Regions from separate parts of the Homo sapiens genome. Here regions 1, 2, 3, 5, 6 and 7 are each linked to region 4. The links are contacts of gene promoters, found by promoter capture Hi-C in blood cells and fetal thymus (Javierre and others, 2016). All regions are on one chromosome and are shown on one strand. The core of a region is centred on a gene start or on the middle of the fragment in contact, and the rest is flanking DNA. Distances in the headings are between cores, read along the strand shown.

Region 1 (2,700 bases), core at 101-2,600, 420 kb before region 4:
GATTTTTTGAAAGTGTGTAGCACTGCCCCCTTCTTTCTTGCTCCCGCTCCCACCATGTGAGATGCCTCAATTCCCTTTGCCTTCCACCATGACTGTAAGTTTCCTGAGGCCTCCTCAGAAGCCAAGCAAATGTCAGAATCATGCTTCCTCTATAGCCTGTGGAACTGTGAGTCAATTAAATTTCTTCTCTTTATAAATTATCCAGTCTCAGGTATTTTTTTATAGCACAGCAAGAACTGACTAAAACAGAGATTTTGTCTCAGAAGTGGGGTAGAGCTATAAAGATACCTGAAAATGTGGAAGGGAAGCAGCTTTGAGATTAGGTAACAGGCAGAGTTTGGAAGACTGTAAAAACTTAGAAGAAGACAGGAAGATGAAAAAGTTTGGAACATCCTAGAAACTTGCTAAATGTTTGTGACCAAAATGCTGATAGAAATGTAGACAGTGAAGTCCAGGCTGAGAAGGTCTCAGGTGGAAATGAAAAATGTATTGGGAACTGGAGCAAAAGTCACTTCTATCATATCCTAGCAAAGAACTTGGCTGCATTGTGCTCCTGCCTTAGGGATCTGTGGAACTTTGAACTTGAACATGATGATTTAGGATATCTGGTAGAAGAAATTTCTAAGCAGTAAAGCATTCAAGATGTAGCCTGGCTGCTACTAACAACATATTACGTGAGCAAAAAAAATGACCTAAATTTGGAGCTTATATTTATATTTATATATATTTTTTTTTGAGAAAGAGTCTCACTCTTGCCCAGACTGCAGTGCAGTGGAACAATCTCTGCTCATTGCAACCTCCACCTCCCAGGTTCAAGTGGTTCTCCTGTCTCAGCCTCCTGAGTAGCTGGGATTACAGGTGCCTGCCATCACACCTGGCTAATTTTTGTATTTTTAGTAGAGATGGGGTTTCACCATGTTGGTCAGGCTGACTAACTCAAACTCCTGACCTCAAGTGATACACTCGCCTCGGCCTCCCAAAGTGCTGGGATAACAGGCATGAACCATCACAGTCAGCCTAGAACTTATATTCAAAGGGAAAACAGAGCATAAAACTTTGGGAAATTTGCAGCCTGGCCATGTGGTAGAAAAGAAAAGCCCATTTTCAGGAGAGAAATTCAAGCAGGCTGCAGAAATTTGCATAAGTGAAAAGGAGCCAAGTGCTGATAGCCAAGACAATGGAGAAGAGGCCTCCAAGGCATTTCAGAGATCTTTGTGTGGCAGCCCCTCCCATCACCGGCCCGGAGGCCTAGGAGGACTGAAAGGTTTCATGGGCCAGGCCTGTGGCCATGCTGCCCTGCACAGCCTTGCTGCACTCTAGGCACTTGAGCTCTGCCATGATTTTGTGTTTCCTGAGGCCTTTCAGCCATGCTTCCTGTACAGTCTGTGGAATTGTGAGTCAATTAAACCTCTTTCTTCATAAATACCCAGTCTCAGGTAGTTATTTATAGCAGTGTGAGAACAGACTCATACAGAGGGCTTCCTGATGTAAGTCACATCTAAGATGAGGCTGAAGGCTAGCAGGGAGAATGAGTCTACAATGTTTCACACACAGAAACCAACTGCAGAACAGCTCAGGCTTTGAGAGGAAGGGTCGCAAGAGTCAAGGCTGGAAGGTGGGCAAGAGCAGACAGGAAAAGGGCTTATCAGTGTCTAAAGTTATTGGAATTCTGTTTAGAGTATGTTAGGGAGCAGTGGAAGTTTTTAAGGAGAGTTTATTTGGAAAAATTGCTCTGGTTACATTATGGGGAATGGATTGCAGGAGGAATGAGGTAACGGCGGCCTGTGGGACTGAGAAATATTTAGGAGGTAGGGCTTTGAATCCAGACTGCCTGGGTTCCAATCCTAGCTCCATCGCTTTTAAGCTGTGTGACTTCAGGCAAATTACTCACCTTCTTTTGCTTCAATTTCCTCATCTGTATACTATGAGAGACTCCACCTTTTGGGTTGTTGTGAGGCTGAAATGAGTTAACATATACCTATATAGGACTTTTCATAATGCCTAAAGCATATTAAGCTCTAAGTCTGATTGTTATTTAAATACACAGGATTTAGTGGATGATTAAATAAAGGAGGTGGGGGAGAGAGAAAAGAGTCAAAGATGGTTGATAAGGTTGAATGATAAAGATGCCAGGTAAAGGCACAGGTTAATTTAGTATGAGGAGCCAGTGAGACATCCATGTAGAGATGTCTAGTTCACAGCCAGATGGCCTGACTTTCTTGTTCACCAAGTATCCCTGAAGCCTAGGACATTAAGAGCTAGAGAATGATAATAAAATTCAGTCCCTGCTTTTGAGGAGCTAAATAAGCAGAATGGTAAGGGTTTGACAGAAGAATCCACTGGGTGCACATGGGATGGCTCCTGCCTAAGCTCAGGTCGGCAGGGAAGACCTTCCAGGGGAGAGGTACTGACCTCGGTTGTGAAAGACAAGTAGGAGCTACTCAGCTGATGGGAGCAGGGAGAGGAATGAGGCAGGGGCTATGCTGGGAGAGAGGACAGATATGCAACAGCACAACAGCAGGAGAACAGTGTGGATGGAACAAAGGTTGCAGAGGAGAACAATGGGAGATAGAACAAGGAAAAGGCAGGGGCTGATCTTATAAATGGTGCTTTGGAGTTCAGACTTTACTCCCTCTTCACAACACGGTGTGAAGTTGACTTTTCTTTTTTTCTCACTCACTTTTTCTAGGAAATGCTGGC
Region 2 (2,700 bases), core at 25-2,524, 480 kb before region 4:
CTAACAGCAGTAGATGAGGCAGTCTGATCCCCTCTTCCCTGGACAACACACACTAGCACTGGTAGTGGGTGAAGTAAACCTCTCTAAACCCTGTAGTTTCTTAATTCCTAAAGAATCTGTGAACAATTATGAAAAGAGAACCCTAAGTTACTTGTAATCAGTAATAGAGAAAAGCCCTAAAATTAAATATTCATAAGGCTTTTCCTAAAAATTACATTTGATAGTTATAAAATATAGAAATAAAAGCATCCAAGTAATATTTTAAAACATACTCTAGAAATCCTAGGAAAATATCAAAAATTTAAAACAAAACAGCCATTTATATTTTAAACAGTAGCCAAAGCAAACCGAGAGTCATAGGAGAAAAACTGGTTTTGATATTTAGTGTTAGTAATGTCATCATTCTTTATATAGCTTGTTTTAATTAACTCATTTGAAATGAATCTAAAGCTTTGTGATTTTTGTGTTGCTTGTGATTTCTTAACATTATAATAAGTGCCAAATGTTTGTTAGCATAGTCAACAATTATCCAGACACTATTTTGTTCTTTGTTTTTCAATAGCTGCAAAAGTACCTGTAAAAGTATTAGTCATATTTAGGCTTCCAAGTTTTCCAGTGAACTAGGAATCTGGCTTCAGCTTGGCAACTAATTCTGAGACCTTTAGTTGCACATTTGTAAAATGGAATACAGGAAGCTAAGTTACTTGCATATTTAAAGAATCCAAGGCTATCTACCAAAAGTTCTGAGAGGTCAGTATTGTGACCAGATACAAAATAAGTACACAAAAAGTCATAGTTGCTCTGAAACAACCACATAATTTTTGAAATTATGAAAACATAATTTTTAAGATTCTAACTCACCAAATATAAATTACCTGGCAATAGCCTTTATAAAGATTTATTAAAATCTTTATGTAAAATTAAGAAAACTGCAACCTATTAAAGGAGTACATTGATATACTATGTTTCTAGAATACTTAATTTTTGACAAAAACCAAATTACCTAAAAATTATTTTATAAACCTAATATAATTCAAATAAAAATACCAGTAGAAGGAGGGAGAGAAACATGCAAACAAATATAGCCACAAAATGTTCTAATAAAAAGAGTAGGGAAACATAATTTCTCACTCCTTAGGTATGGATTACGCATGGTGACTTCCTTTCAAAGTGTACATCATGGAAAGCAAGAAATAAAAGAGTAACTTCAAGCAGAAAAGATAACTGTTAGGTATTGGGCTTAATACATGGATGATGAAATAACATGTACAATAAACCCCCATGACACGTTACCTATGTTACAAACCTTCACATATACCCCCAAACCTAAAATACACGTTTATTTAAAAAGACAGAAAGAAAGAAAGAAAGAAAGAAAGAAAGAAAGAAAGAAAGAAAGAAAGAAAGAAAGAAAGAAAAGAAAGAAAGGAGTAATTTTGCAGTGTAGAAACCTGACAAGCACTACCTCAGTGAAGTGATCAAGGTCAACATTAACAGTCATAAATCATGTTGCTAGTATGTACCCTTGAAACGATGTGATGCTAATGGCATTTTACATCTAAGGCCTTTCTCCCAATAACCCATAAGCCCAGTCTTATCATGAGAAAAATGTTGAATTGCAGCCCTGTGACATCTGACCAGTATTCCTCAAAACTGTCAAGGTGATCAAAAACAGAGAAATTCTGAAAACTTGCCACAGCCAAGAGTAGGCTAAGGAGGCATGACAACTAAATGTAATATGGTATCCTGAATGGGATTCAGGAACAGAAAAAGGATATCAAGTAAAAGCTAAGGATATTGCTCTACTTGGGTTGCTATAAACAAGATCTCACAGACTGGGTAGCTTAAACAACATTTATTTTCTCACAGTTCTGTTGGTTGGAAGTCCAAGATCAAGATGCTAGCAGGATTGGTTTCTGGTGAGGTCTCTTTTCCAGGCTTGCAGACAGCCATCTTCTTGCTGTATCCTCACATGGTCTTTCTTCTGTGCTCATGTGCTCCTCATGTCTCATCATTTTCTTTTTTTTTTTTTTTTTTTGAGATGGAGTCTCGCTCTGTCCCCCAGGCTGGAGTGCAGTGGCACAATCTCCCCTCACTGCAAGCTTCGCCTCCCGGATTCACGCCATTCTCCTGCCTCAGCCTCCCATGTAGCTGGGACTACAGGCGCCAGCCACCATGCCCGGATAATTTTTTTGTATTTTTAGTAGGGACGGGGTTTCACCGTGTTAGCCAGGATGGTCTCAATCTCCTGACCTCGTGATCCGCCCGCCTCGGCCTCCCAAAGTGCTGGGATTACAGGCGTGAGCCACCGTGCCCAGCCTCATCATTTTCTTATAAAGATACAAGTCCTATTGGATTGCTGTCCCACCCTTATGACCTTATTTAATCTTAATTGCCTGCTTAAAGGCCCTATCTTCAAATATGGTCACATAGTATATTTGTATGTATATGTATGAATGTATTCAATGTATGAATTTTGCAGGAACACAATTTGGTCCATAACACTAAAGAAATCTAAATAAATTTTGGACTTTACTTAATAACAACCTATCAGTATTGCTTCATTGAATATAACAAGTGTACCATACTAATGTAAGATGTTAGTAATACACCAGAGTAGTTTGAGGGTACAAGAACTCTCTGTACTATTTGCTCAATTTTGTGTAAATCTGAACTGTTCTAAAAATAGTCTATTAAAAA
Region 3 (2,700 bases), core at 183-2,682, 460 kb before region 4:
TAATGTATAAATTCATTATTTAATTTATTTTAAACTGTATTTTGGGTTGGGGGTGAGAAATCCTACCTGAAAAGGAAAGATGACTGGCTTCTAAATGAAATGCAGACAGGAGTCTGGTCCCTCTCTTTTCCACATCTGCTGGGAATTATTTCCTTAAGATTAGATCATGGTGCTAATTCATGTTAAACATCTTCTGGAGGCTTTCTTCACAGCACCAGTCAGAAAGAAGCTGTTCTTGGTCTTTTAGGAAATTATTATTTTCTCATTCTCATGATGCCAAAAATGATAGTCATTGCTAAAGTTATGGCACTTTTTAAAAGTAATCAGGATAATTTTAAAAGCAGGACACTCAAGTGACTTTCCTATTTATTTTCTGAATTTACTCTAGAGATTTATTATGATATTCAAACACTTTAATAAGAATATATTTGAGGCCAGAAGCGGTGGCTCATGCCTGTAATCCCAACACTTTGGGAGACTGAGGCAGAAGGATCACCTGAGGTCAGGAGTTCGAGACCAGCCTGGCCAACATGGTGAAACCCTCTCTCTACTAAAAATACAAAAATGAGCCAGGTGCAGTGGCTCACATCTGTAATCCCAGCACTTTGGGAGGCCAAGATGGGTGGATCACCTGAGGTCAGGAGTTCGAGAACAGCCTGGCCAACATGGAGAGACCCCATCTCTACTAAAAATATAAAATTAGCCGGGCGTGGTGGCACATGCCTGTAATCTCAACTATTCGGGAGGCTGAGGCAGGAGAATGGCTTGAACCCAGGAGGCAGAGGTTGTGGTGAGCTGAGATCATGCCATTGCACTCCAGCCTGGGCAACAAGAACGAAACTCTTGTCTCAAAAAAAAAAAAAAAAAAAAGGAGCCGGGCCTGGTGGCACGCACCTGTAGTCCTAGGTACTCAGGAGGCTGAGGCAGGAGAATCCCTTGAACATGGGAGGCGGAGGTTGCCGCGAGCCAAGATCATGCCACTGCACTCCAGCCTGGGCAACAGAGCGAGAATCTGTTTCAAAAAAAATAAAAATAAATAAATTAATTATTTAATTAATTAAAAAGGCCAGGCACAGTGGCTCATGCCTGTAATCCCAGCACTTTGGGAGGCCGAGGCGGGCGGATCACGAGGTCAGGAGATCCAGACCATCCTGGCTAACGCAGTGAAGCCCCATCTCTACTAAAAATACAAAAAATTAGCCGGGCATGGTGGCAGGCACCTGTAGTCCCAGTTACTCGGGAGACTGAGGCAGGAGAATGGTGTGAACCCGGGAGGTGGAGCTTGCAGTGAGCCGAGATCGCGCCACTGCACTCCAGCCTGGGCGACAGAGCAAGACTCCGTCTCAAAAAAAAAAAAAAAAAGAATATATTTGAAATGAAGCATACCATGTATGGAAAATAAATGACTAAAGTATATGTTGTATGGTTCATTCTCAACAGCTGTGAGTAAACTTACAATTAGAAGGTTTCCTTCTTTTTGTGTGGTGTGTATTATTTTTTAATTTGCAATTTTAAGGAAATATTTTATTTAGAATAAGAGGAATATGACCATTTTATTTCTATTACAAAACTTTGTAACAATACCATATTATTGGCGTAAGTGAATAGACTAATTAAGAATGGGATACTATTTCCCAAGGAACAAAAGAATTCAACAAGTGATTTTTAAATTAATCTGGAAAAGTTATACATGATATTATGTGAGGACTAGATCCATTTCAGAGTGAAATTCCATAATGTCCATCAAACCTACCATGTCCAAAATGTAACTGTCATCTACACTTCCCAGCCCTGCCTCCACCAAACCTGCTTCCTCTGTAATTTTCCCATCTCCATTATGGGCAACGTGATAATTGCATTGCCCATAATGCAATTTCCAGTTACTCAGGCCAAATAGCTTGGATTCCAGTCTTTATCTCACACATTCAGTCTGTTATGATATTCTGTTGACTCCACCTTCAAAATATTTCCAGAATTTTACCATTATTTGCTACTTCCCACTGCTACCACCCTAGTCAAAGGGACCATCAACTGTCATGTGGACTGCTATAATAAACTTTCACCCTTTTTTTCCTATAATTTATTATTAACATAGAAGCCAGTTACACTTTATAAAACAAGTCATGTTGTTATACTTATCTGTTCAAAACCCTTCAATGATTCCCCATTTAATTCACAGTAAAAGCCTAGGTCCTTACAAAGGCCTAAGGCTCTTTGCAGTTACCACCTCTTCCTCTCAGTCTCTCTGACTTTCTCTCTTACTACCTTCTCCATCACTTATTCTGCACCAGCCACACTATCCTTCCTGCTGTTCATCAAGTAAGCTAGGTGTGTTCCATCTCAGGGCCTCTGCAATGGCTGTTCCCTCCACCCAGAATACTGCCCCTAGGATGTCCACATGGCCAACTCCCTCAGTTCCTTCAAGTCTTTACTCAAATGGCACCTTCTCAATGAGGCCTACAATAATCACTCTACTTTAAAATTCCAGCCACCCCTCCCACACGCTCAGTCTCTCAATCTCCCTGTTTAGTTGTATTCAATAGGGCTATTAACTCCCACGTACTTTGCCTTATTTGCTTAATTCTTACAAACAACCCCATGAAGTAGGGACTCTTGCTATCAATTGTATAGATGAGGAAACTGAGCCTTAAAGAGGTTAATTTATTCTTTATCATCCCTCTCCTGCCCTAGAATGACCTC
Region 4 (2,700 bases), core at 17-2,516:
CTGCACTCTCACTCTCCCTCCTCAATCCCTGAACTTTGGTCCCATACACCATATATACAGACCTACCCCGATAAACAAGGCTCCGGAGGGTTATGAGTCTAGCACGTCCCAAGTGGCCAAAAGTAAATCAAAAACACACGTTTCCATCTCTTTGATTAGCCTATTAAGAGCTTAACATGTCCTAGAGCATCGGGGCTACAGCTAGCACATTAATGCTACCCTCTGAGCCCAGGCATAAAATATGCACTTGTCTGAAGACTTAACGACACTGACATGAAACTACAAAATGCATAAGACTTTTCTGTAAGAAAACTGGAAATCAATTTAAAACACACACATCATTATTACCTTCCGGATTACTATTTGGTGATCAGTTAAAAGATTACAATAATCATAATCAAGTCCACTTCACAAAACATGTATTGTATATTCATAAAATAAACGTATTTTTTTTGCATCATAAAATAACTGCAAGTCCCAGAATTCTACAACCCCCGACAAGTCTGGAGTTAAAAAGATATCTATTTGTAAAATGAGTTCAGTCAAGCTCACTCATTGCCATTAAAAAAAAAAAAAAAAACACACACACAGAAAAAAAGTTTTCTAAGCGTTATTCGGAAGACAAGCAAAGCACAAGTTGTTGGTTTAAAAAAAAAAAGCTCCATTGAATATTGTTAAGTCTTCCTTACCGTTTTCATCTTCAAATTCTGATAAAAAGTAAGTTTCAGACAATAGAGATTGCACTGGACGACTCACGTACTCCCTCTCCTCTCTAACTTTTTTTAATTTTTTTTATTTTTTTATTTTTTGCCCCCCTTTGCAAAGCCACACCAGCCAGTTATTCTGCAGCCAGAATAAAACCCTATGGTCTGGCTAACCCGGGCTTTAGAGAACTGACTTTCCGATTTGGCAGAATAAGAGATGCCTTCAATACATCTAGGCTATCACTCTGAGATGCTGCCTTTGCAAACCCCCTTTCTCTCCCTCCCCACCCCCCAAAAAAGGAAAGGAAAAGAAAGAAAAGACGGGAAAAAAGACTTATTGGGGGTGGAAGTGGTGCCCTCTCTTCCTGGAAAGCTTAGTGCCTTTGCTATGCAAATAACATGTGCAGAGCATCAAAAGGTATCAGGAGAAAAGAAGACAAGAGGAGCAGGAAGGGCAGCAAAGTTTTGTTGAAGTAGCCCTAGATCTCACTACCGGCCCCCAGCCAACTTGAATTGCAGCAGGAGAAAATTTTGGCAGCTTTTCCTCGGAGGCAGAGCACACTGACGTCAGTCTGCAGATGTGCCTGGGCTGCGTCGGGTGCGCATGTGTCCTGGGTCGTCACGTGGAGGGGGAGGGGAGGTAGAGGTACAATCGGGGTAACCAACTACCAGCCATTCAGAAGGGCTTAGACAATGTCAACTTTTCCACACTGTGAATGAGAGAAATTCTGGCCTCTCTAACCTCTCTGTCCTATCTCATTCCGCCTCTTTTCCTCCTCCTCCTCTAAACTCTCTTAGAAATTCTAGCCTGGTTTGCTATTAGTTGTTTCTTGGAAAAATGAAGGGGGAGGGAGAAGGATGAATGACTTTAGATGGACTAATGTCACTGTTAAGATCTCTGGTGTCATTCTCCGTGTAATTTTATTTTTAAAATCCACACAATCAAAATGTTAAAACTTGCACGCAAACAGTGCCTCTGAGGAAACTTAAAGCTTAGATTCGTGCAGCAGGCACAAGACTCAGTAGCTACAAGTGTACAAAATGCCTGTGTTTTATACATACTTCAGCAAGTAAGGTTAGCACCAAAAGGGAAAGTAAACTAAAGTAAACTAATACCAGCACATTTTCCATTTGATTATCGACTTCAGGTTATGTGGAGCTTTAAAAGAAGAAGAAGAAGAAAAAAAAAAAGTAGGGGAGGAGGGAGCGGGGGAAGGAAGAGAGAAGCTTGCATTATTTCCAGATGAGGGTGAGACTGGATGGTGTTTTAAAGTGCAACCGGGAAAAGCCACAAGTGGAGTGTATTTTTTTAAGTCAGTCCATTGAATGAAACTTCAATGACTGCCCAAATGAAAATAAATCCGAAGTAGGACCCCACCACCAAAAAAAAAAAGGAAGGGAAAAAAACAGGAACCCTGCTGCGATCTCAAGATAAACAAACAAAACCTCAAAACTGGTTCTTCAACCTTCCCAATCCCACCCTCCCTCCCCCCTACACACAAGCTGCCAGTCCAGACTTTAAGGATAAAATACCGCTACAATGTAGCACTTTCACTTTCATTTGCTGAGAATGAAAGCCGCTGGGGAGAAAATGCCCAGTGTTTTCCATGTCCTAAGCAAGCAAACAAAGTCTGGCACATACATCGGAAACAGGAAAAAATGTGAAAATAGCTCAGGACAAATGTTGCCTTTCAACGGTGTAATCTGCTGCATCATTTATCTGTCTCTACCATTGAGTGTAGAATAGGGAGCTGTTTAAGAGTTTCCGAGGTTGGGGGCAGGGGAAAATTGACGCCTTGAAATTCCAGCCCTTAGTTAATGCCAAGTCAATTTCCGATGGTGAGAACCAGAAAGGAGAACTGGACCGGAGGGAAGGGGGTAGGAAGGATGATCTTTCTGAATACCAGCTCTTAAATATCAAGCTTCTGCTAACATTATTGCCCATTTGATTTTTTTTTTTCTTCCTACGCCGGAGGTAGTAGGTGTAATTCTTCTG
Region 5 (2,700 bases), core at 165-2,664, 440 kb before region 4:
AGTTCCCACTTGGTGCTCAATGGTAAGCAAAGACTTTGTACATATTACAGAATGAGTAAACTAAGGGCCACACAGCCTGATTTCAAGGATTTTACAGTTAATAGTCAGCTACAACGTAAGTTACAAGCGTTCAGTGTGTATACCAATATTAGATTCTTAGTTGGGACAAATAGACCATAGTAATATAAGATGTGAACATTGGGGGAAACTTGTTGAGGAGTACGTGGGAAATCTCTGTGCAATCTTTGCAAGTTTTCTGTAAATGTTGCCCTCTTCTAAATTTGAAATTGTTTAAAAATACTCAATTTCATAAGAATGACTATGAGGGAGACATTATTTTTGGACCAAGGAAATCAGAAGTGTCTTTGTAGAAGAAAAGAATGATTGAACTGGACCTTAAAGGAAGAATGAGATTATAATAAAGGGAAATGGAAAAGAAGTTTTTTAGATAGGGGAAACATGATACAAGAAACTGTGGAATGTGTGAAAGGACAGGACAGGGACTGATGAATTGGGAGCATGAAAAGGGTTGTGTACAATAGGACCCAAAGGGCAGAGGGCCTTGAAAGCAAATCGCGAAAGGCTTAAATTTTGTAAGTTAGCTAACAGACAAAAATTAAGCTCTGAATTGCTATAGAAATCCCTTGTTTTACAATGAAAAGTAAATATATTAATTACAAAATAGAGGCCGGGTGCGGTGGCTCACGCCTGTAATCCCAGCACTTTGGGAGGCTGAGGCAGGTGGATCACCTGAGGTCAGGAGTTCGAGACCAGCCTGGCCAACATGGTGAAACCCCGTCTCTACTAAAAATACAAAAAAATTAGTCAGGTGTGGTGGAGCATGCCTGTAATCCCAGCTACTAGGGAGACTTAGGCAGGAGAATCGCTTGAATCTGGGAGGCAGAGGTTGCAGTGAGTCGAGATCACACCACTGCACTCCAGCCTGGGCAACAAGAGAAAACTTCTATCTCAAAAAAAAAAGATAAAAATTAATATACTTAAATCATCTCCCCAAATCTCTGTATGTCTACCATAGAGCTAAAGGAATTAAGTCATAATATTTATAGAACACTTACTATATGACCACTACTTTATGTCTATCATCTTATTTAATTATCCTAAGATTCTTGTGAAGCAGTTCTTGTTTTATTTTACAGATAGAAGACTGAGAACTTGTTTATTTCCAATAAGTACAAAAGAGTCATAAATATAAAAAAACAGATATAGCCACCTGAAAACTTGTTTCCAACAAACACAAAGTCATAAACGTCAAAAATAATAAAGGACTTAGTGCTAGGATGTGCTTCAGTGGTTGAAATGGAACTCTGAGTTGGAAATATGTTTACATTTACACTTTGTTTAAATTCATTTTTTAACTGAAAAGATAGTCATCTGGGACTAATATGCATTATTCAAGATATAATGGTATTGATAAGCCCATTAATCAAGTGTGTTTTAGGGAATAATTCTGACAAGTGTGTTTGGCAAGGGTAATTATCACAGAGTACCAAAAACTGATAAAGTCTGGCCTACACAGACTAGACACAGTACAGGAGAACTCTCTCCCAGTTCAGTTAGAAACTCGTGTTTTGTGGAGTCAGAGACAACACAGCTAACTCCGTGGACAATAGAATGGACATCCCAGCTCCAAGCTGTGAATGTTTCCAAATAGTTCAAAGAGAATGAAAAGAGTTTAATCTTCCCATCTTGGGGTTTCCTAGAAGCATTGTGACTTGCCTTCAAAGCCAAGTTACTATGTGTTTGGGAATCAAATGGCTCAATAGTCGCTAATGTCATTTTTCTCCCTACTAAATACTTGGATAAGACACAGTAAGAAGAAAATAGGTTTTGTTTTGGCTGTTAATAATTCTCTAATCATGCAGAAATGAAAAGTTCATCAAAGATCCATAGTTTCTATTGAGAATTTCCTCCTATTGTTTTTTCTAAGAGTTCTCTTCCCCACAATAAACCACAAAACAATTTTTCCTCTCTTTATATTTGTTGAAAGAATTCAATTCTTGAGTGGAAATTTTGTTTTCCTTTAATTCCCAACAAACTGTATCCCATACCTGACAGCCTCAAGGTAGGAAGGCAGCGGAGTTATTCAAAGAAGCATTTTGTTCTTGGTCTTGCCATTCAATATCACAGGGTGTGATGAAAACTGGAACAAATATGGTCATCACAGAGGTGCCAGAACATTACATTTAAAAAATGGAATTATTTGAGTCAATCTGGAATGTCTGGTTCTTTTGGTTTGGGCCTCATGGGTAGCATTGTGCTTCAAAAACAACTTGAATTGGCTACCAGGATTCCAGAAGGGTAACATAATCCTGTACCTTTGAGGAGAGATGCTTATCTTTATGTCTACTCTTAGCAGAAAGAGGCTGGATTCTTCCACCTTTTCATGTTTCAAAATAAAAATTGTTCAAAAAGTTCCAAACCTGAATGGAATTTGGAAACAAGAGTGGGAGGAGGTACTTCCTCAAGTCTTTTGGTTTGTGCTGTTTTCTATTTGAAATAAATGCTCCACCATGAGTCAATATCCTCTAGAGCTACAGAAATGTGGGGTTTGGGGAAGGTTCATCCTCACCACTTCCCCTTATGTGATTTGGAATTTAGAGAAAAGGTCCCAGAAAAGATTAGTAATTCTGAATACAGTGCTCATATCTGCCCAGGAGACAGAGACACTTAAAGGGGCAG
Region 6 (2,700 bases), core at 36-2,535, 490 kb before region 4:
TCCTTATAAATAATGCATTATTTTTCTCTACGATTTTTTCATCTTTTGTTCTTGCAAGTTTGATTTGCATGAGTAGGTATAGATTCCTTTGGGTTTACTATGTGTGATGTTGGCTATGCTTCTTGAATCTGTAGGTTTGTGTCTTTCACCAAATTTGGGAGGTTTTTAGACATTATTTCTTAAATTATTTTATCCTCAACACATTCCTTCTTCTCTATTCTAGGACTCTAGTGACATGAATTTTAGACCTTTGGTGTTCTCTGTCACCTCCATTCTGCTACTGAGCCCTTGCAGTGGGTTTTAAATTTTGATTATTGTATTTTTCAGTTCTAAAACTTTTATTTGTATTTATTTTTATGTTGAAGCTTTCTGTCTTCTCATTTATTTCAACAGTGTTTGCCCTTCTTTCAGCTTTTTTACAATAACTGTTTAAAAGTCTGTGTCAAATAATTCCAGTGCCTGTTATCTCAGTATTAGCATCTGTTGATTGTCTTTTCCCGTGCAAGTTAAGATTTGTATGATTCTCTTATGCCAAGTAATTTTTTTTTATTGTATCCTAAACATTTTGAATATTATGAGTCTCTGGGTCTTATTTAAATCCTATGAAAAATGTTATGTTATAGCAGACAACCCATTTGGGTTCAGGCCACAAGTTCTGATCACCCTTCTGTGGGATTTGGTTTCAATCTTAGTCTTGTTCTCAATGCATTTGCATTGCTATTTGTATCTGTCCCATGTATACGCCACCCGCTGTCCAGCGTGGGACCTGGCTGTTAGACTATTTTTTTTTTTTTTTTTTGAGACGGGGTTTTACTCTTGTTGCCCAGGCTGTAGTGCAATGGTGCAATCTTGGCTCACTGCAACCCCCACCTCCCGGGTTCAAGAGACTCTCTTGCCTCAGGCTCCTGAGTAGCTGGAATTATAGGCATGCGCCACCGCATGTGGCTAATTTTGTATTTTTTAGTAGAGACGGGGTTTCTCCATGTTGGTCAGGCTGGTCTCGAACTCCGTACCTCAGATGATCCACCCACCTCATCCTTCCAAAGTGCTGAGATTACAGGCATGAACCACCACGCCAAGCCTAGACTATCTTTTAGTTAAGTTCTCAGAGTCTTTGATATGCAGTTTAGCATTGGATTGACACATGCACTGACTTTATGGATTCCCTTTTCCCTTTACAGTCTCCTCAATACCTTCTATTGTCGTGGGCCTCCCCTTTTCTTCCTCCAGCCAGAACGTTGGATCTTTAGTTACACTGTTCTACCATGCACTTTTTGCAACTGTGCCCTCATTCAGAGCCATGCTGGGATAGAAAAGAAAGGGGGAAAAGCAGCAGGGTTTTATCCCATTCTCTTGGGGCCACAGCTTCTCAGAGTTGTTTATCAATACTACCATTTTTCCAAACCCCTTTGGAGATTCTCACATATGTACTGTTCTGCTTTTCCTCTTTTAAGATTTCTGTATAACTAGTGAGTTGTCTCAAACTGGCTTATGCCAAATTGTCTCATGTAGTAGGCTATCTCATTTCTTTCAGGTTCTGTTAAGATCCTTTTTTAAAAAACAAACATTTAGATGGTACTGAATAATTCTCAGCATGAGCAAATTTTTTTCTTTAAAAAAAGATTTCTTAATAGTTGGCAATGAATTGCTATTAGAGAGAATAATGTATTTCTTGGGAAAAGCACTGTGCCTTGATATGGTTCACCAGAGAGAAGTTGAAAAACAGTACCTTAGGAACATCCTCAAATCACAAAAGGTGATCACCAAACTGCTATCTTGAGATAAGAAGAAAGGGAGGGATTGGTATTGAGAGGTGCAGTGGTTGACATGACCTATCTCCAGGATCTCTTAACAGCCTTCAGTAAAGTTGTGCTCTTGTGGGTGCTGTTTGGTTGGAGACTCAGGATGGCAGAGATTCAAATTATTTTTGCATGGTGTAGGCCAGAGGAAGCTAGAGCACAAGAGGCAAAGGAGGCCTGATGATCATGAGACATGCTGACAATTAGCAGAAATTCTTTGGAGAGATTTAGATTTCTGTGGGGTGTGGAGGGGTACAGAGATCCCCAGCTGACAGATGGTGCATAATAGGCTAGTACCTGATGCTTAAATCAAGCTAATAAAAGGTATTTGGCTCAGTTAATCTGAGAAAAAAAAAAAGCAATACTGGTAGTTCATGGAGTCAAAAGGAGAGTGTATTTTACTCTAAAAGCTTGTTGCTAAATAATCTCTAAGGAAGTCTATCTGTTTTCTATTCACTAGTTATAAAGTACTCCCTCTTGTTCTTCTTGCCAAGAATTTCAACTGAATGATCAACTGCAAGACAAATATTCATTCATCAACTTTTGGAGAGTAATATTTTCACTAGTTACTGTCATTATGCTTTATGTAGCCTTTATCAGAGCTCTAGAGTTTTTATTTGTTTTTTTTTTGTTTTTTTTTTTTTTGTTTTTTTTTTTTTTTTGAGACGGAGTCTCGCTCTATCACCCAGGCTGGAGTGCAGTGGCGGGATCTCGGCTCACTGCAAGCTCCGCCTCCCGGGTTCACGCCATTCTCCTTCCTCAGCCTCCCAAGTAGCTGGGACTACAGGCGCCCGCCACTACGCCCGGCTAATTTTTTTGTATTTTTAGTAGAGACGGGGTTTCACCGTTTTAGCCGGGATGGTCTCGATCTCCTGACCTCGTGATCTGCCCGCCTCGGCCT
Region 7 (2,700 bases), core at 39-2,538, 510 kb before region 4:
ACTTTTCTAGATCTTGATTGCAGTGGAAGTTATATGCTCTATACAATACCAAAAGTCATCACATTTTATATACAAAATTAGTGAGTTTTACTATATGTAATGCCTACCTCAATACAGCTGTTTTTAAAAATTCTATCATTTCATGCATTTAGTTTCCTTAATGAGGTGACTGCTATTTCTAAGTTATTAAAAGGCCATTTAGTATTATAAACAACATAGCTACAGAATTTCCATGCTTTATTATATACTTAAATGTACCTATCCTTGACTTTTTAAAATTGATTTGTAAGGCTTCTTTATAGCACTTTTTAAACATTTTCCTACTTCCTTCACATTCCTAATAAGTGAAATTAAGTGGTTGGTCCTTGCTAAAAGGGACCGTGTTCAAGAAGATGCGTGTGAAACATTAAAATAAGCAATGCTGAATCTGTTTTGAAAGTTGTAAGCTTAACTTACCTATGACATGAGATAGCAGAATTCATCTATATCTTTTCCATTTATTGCAAAATTCTTACCACACATAAAGGTTTTCAATCTTTTTTAGCTGAAAATGTAAGCAAAGAACTTGTCCTTTCTCTTTTGCATTTTTTTAACCATAAAAACATTAAACAGTTCTACTGATACCCATCACAATTTTCCTTAGAATTTTACAAACTTCTGCCCTAGGAAATGGCAGAAAATAATTATTGACTCCCTAAATGCAATGGAACAGGAGATTCCAGGTGCATGGCAAATGCTAACTATAACTGAGGCTGGCGAGGGGAAGAGGGCAAATTACCCTACACCTTCTTATTTTCCCCTTCTTCAATTACATTATTACTTCATTTATTTGACTATTTATTGAATCACTTGCCAAGCACTGTCCTAAGTGTATCTTTGAAAGATACACTTAAGAAAATGAAATGAGGACATGAAATGAAATAAGAAAAAAAAATGAGGACAAATATGATTTGTCCTCAAGGAGTTAATGTCTAGTGAGTTTAAAGAAGAGTAAACAGGAAATCGCCATAAAGTGTGATAAGTGCTAAAGGGTGCTTTGGAAGCTCAAAGGAGAGACATCTAAACCAGACTTCAAGAACGGAATCAGAAAAGGCTCACTGAAGTGCCAACCAAGCTGAGACCTAAAGGAGGAGCCGGAATTAAGCAAGGAGAATTAACAAGAACGGAGAGATGAAGTATTTGCAGTATCCCTGAAGGAAGAAAAGCATGTGCAAAGGCGGATGGTTGGTCAAGAGAGCAGGGTTTAAGAATACTAGTTATCAGCCAAGTGAAAGCACATGAAGGTGGATACGGCAAAGGAGTTGTCTCTTGAGAGACGTAACTGGAAAGCAAAGCATTAACTGCCTCATGTAGGGATCCTAAGTCATCTTAAAGTGCTTGCTCTTTATCCCAGGACAATGCAAATCTAACTACTGTAGGATAAGAAGAAGAGAGGTATTCAAAGATGTAATTCAGTAGAAAAATATGAAAGTAATTTTTTTTTTTTTTTTTTTGAGACAGAGTCTCGCTCTGTCGCCCAGGCTGGAGTGCAGTGGCGCGATCTCGGCTCACTGCAAGCTCCGCCTCCCGGGTTCACGCCATTCTCCTGCCTCAGCCTCTCCAGTAGCTGGGACTACAGGCGCCCGCCACCACGCCCGGCTAATTTTTTGTATTTTTAGTAGAGATGGGGTTTCACCGTGCTAGCCAGGATGGTCTCGATCTTCTGACCTCGTGATCCGCCCACCTCGGCCTCCGAAAGTGCTGGGATTACAGGCGTGAGCCACCACGCCCGGCCGAAAGTAATTTTTAAACCTACTATAAGAATCACTTCATGTATACCAGTCGTGATGGCATACTCTTTATACTAGTCTTTACTAGGCATGTGTGCCTTAGATATTATTTCTGTATTTAATGGTTCATTTTTCCTTAATGTGCTCAGTTTTTAATGTTTGCAGCTGTCAGTTTTGAAACCAGGACTCTCCTTCCAAGTTCTACCAAAATCATATTAGGTAACCACAAAAAGATAACTTGTTTCTTAGTTCAAATTTTTTTTTTGACCAGAAAATCTCTTGAACAAAATGGCTGATTGTTAATAGATTGCATATTCATGATGTTCCTCAAGCTAGATAACAAAGAGACAACTAACAGACTAAAGCTTTGGTAGACAGATTACTAGCATTCTTGATTACATCTGGCTTATCGTTTGTCTTCCAGCCAAAGAGAAGAGAGAGAGAGAGAGGGAGTGTGTGTGTGTGTGTGTGTGTGTGTGTGTGTGTGTGTGTGTTTTAGTCACAAATTTCATTGATATTTACACATGTGAGGTATTATAAAATGTTACTAGTTGGGTTTGTTGGCTTGTTTGTTTTTGAGGCAAAACTGTGTTTTATGAACCAAGATGTTAACTAATCTTCACATAGAATTATTGCAGGTTCAAACCTATAGATTTGTTTTCTAATTTCTAATTCAGTAAAGATTATTTTTGTCTGCTTTTGCTAACTGTTTTGACTTATTTGTTAGACATATTTATTTTCTATGATGCCATTAAATTGAAGGTTGTTATTGTTATAACTGGGGAACAAAAGTGGCAGGTAATTGGAATATCAACCAATATTTGGAAGGTTATATCTTCTAAGGCAAGGAAAAAATGTAAAATGGTATTGCTGAATTTTAGGAAAACCTTAATTATTTTAGAAGTGAGATAGATGATTTTATAATCAACTT

What was found. Contacts are between HindIII fragments. The CHiCAGO score rates a contact against its expected background, and 5 or more counts as called.
Region 1: a fragment that was not itself captured here is called in contact with the fragment with the promoter of ADAMTS6 in region 4 in 14 of 17 cell types (total B cells, naive B cells, activated CD4 T cells and 11 more); the score reaches 16.7 in total B cells.
Region 2: a fragment that was not itself captured here is called in contact with the fragment with the promoter of ADAMTS6 in region 4 in 1 of 17 cell types (activated CD4 T cells); the score reaches 7.4 in activated CD4 T cells.
Region 3: a contact is called between a fragment that was not itself captured here and the fragment with the promoter of ADAMTS6 in region 4, in 14 of 17 cell types (activated CD4 T cells, total B cells, non-activated CD4 T cells and 11 more). The highest score is 14.8, in activated CD4 T cells.
Region 5: a fragment that was not itself captured here is called in contact with the fragment with the promoter of ADAMTS6 in region 4 in 16 of 17 cell types (total CD8 T cells, naive CD8 T cells, activated CD4 T cells and 13 more); the score reaches 22.6 in total CD8 T cells.
Region 6: a contact is called between a fragment that was not itself captured here and the fragment with the promoter of ADAMTS6 in region 4, in 10 of 17 cell types (total B cells, M0 macrophages, M1 macrophages and 7 more). The highest score is 9.9, in total B cells.
Region 7: a fragment that was not itself captured here is called in contact with the fragment with the promoter of ADAMTS6 in region 4 in 16 of 17 cell types (M0 macrophages, total B cells, M2 macrophages and 13 more); the score reaches 41.3 in M0 macrophages.

Annotation. Positions count from the first base shown.
Region 1 is chr5:65,058,506-65,061,205 of GRCh38, forward strand. The region is part of intron 1 of LOC107986419 (a long non-coding RNA gene); the gene reads left to right. Among named protein-coding and RNA genes, the nearest start is that of CWC27, 290 kb to the left of the region's middle. The HindIII fragment of the contact is 3,142 bases long and covers 1-2,700 here.
Region 2 is chr5:65,005,608-65,008,307 of GRCh38, forward strand. All of the region lies in intron 13 of CWC27 (CWC27 spliceosome associated cyclophilin), which reads left to right. Among named protein-coding and RNA genes, the nearest start is that of CWC27, 240 kb to the left of the region's middle. The HindIII fragment of the contact is 1,652 bases long and covers 449-2,100 here.
Region 3 is chr5:65,022,960-65,025,659 of GRCh38, forward strand. No RefSeq gene overlaps it. Among named protein-coding and RNA genes, the nearest start is that of CWC27, 260 kb to the left of the region's middle. The HindIII fragment of the contact is 3,595 bases long and covers 1-2,700 here.
Region 4 is chr5:65,480,654-65,483,353 of GRCh38, forward strand. It overlaps ADAMTS6 (ADAM metallopeptidase with thrombospondin type 1 motif 6), which reads right to left and starts at 1,267. Exons shown (of 25, transcript NM_197941.4): 1 at 690-1,267. RefSeq lists enhancers at 1,020-1,379, 1,147-1,646, 1,420-1,469. The HindIII fragment of the contact is 619 bases long and covers 1,076-1,694 here.
Region 5 is chr5:65,039,148-65,041,847 of GRCh38, forward strand. No RefSeq gene overlaps it. Among named protein-coding and RNA genes, the nearest start is that of CWC27, 270 kb to the left of the region's middle. The HindIII fragment of the contact is 8,098 bases long and covers 1-2,700 here.
Region 6 is chr5:64,987,822-64,990,521 of GRCh38, forward strand. All of the region lies in intron 13 of CWC27 (CWC27 spliceosome associated cyclophilin), which reads left to right. Among named protein-coding and RNA genes, the nearest start is that of CWC27, 220 kb to the left of the region's middle. The HindIII fragment of the contact is 1,844 bases long and covers 364-2,207 here.
Region 7 is chr5:64,968,738-64,971,437 of GRCh38, forward strand. The region is part of intron 11 of CWC27 (CWC27 spliceosome associated cyclophilin); the gene reads left to right. Among named protein-coding and RNA genes, the nearest start is that of CWC27, 200 kb to the left of the region's middle. The HindIII fragment of the contact is 1,688 bases long and covers 445-2,132 here.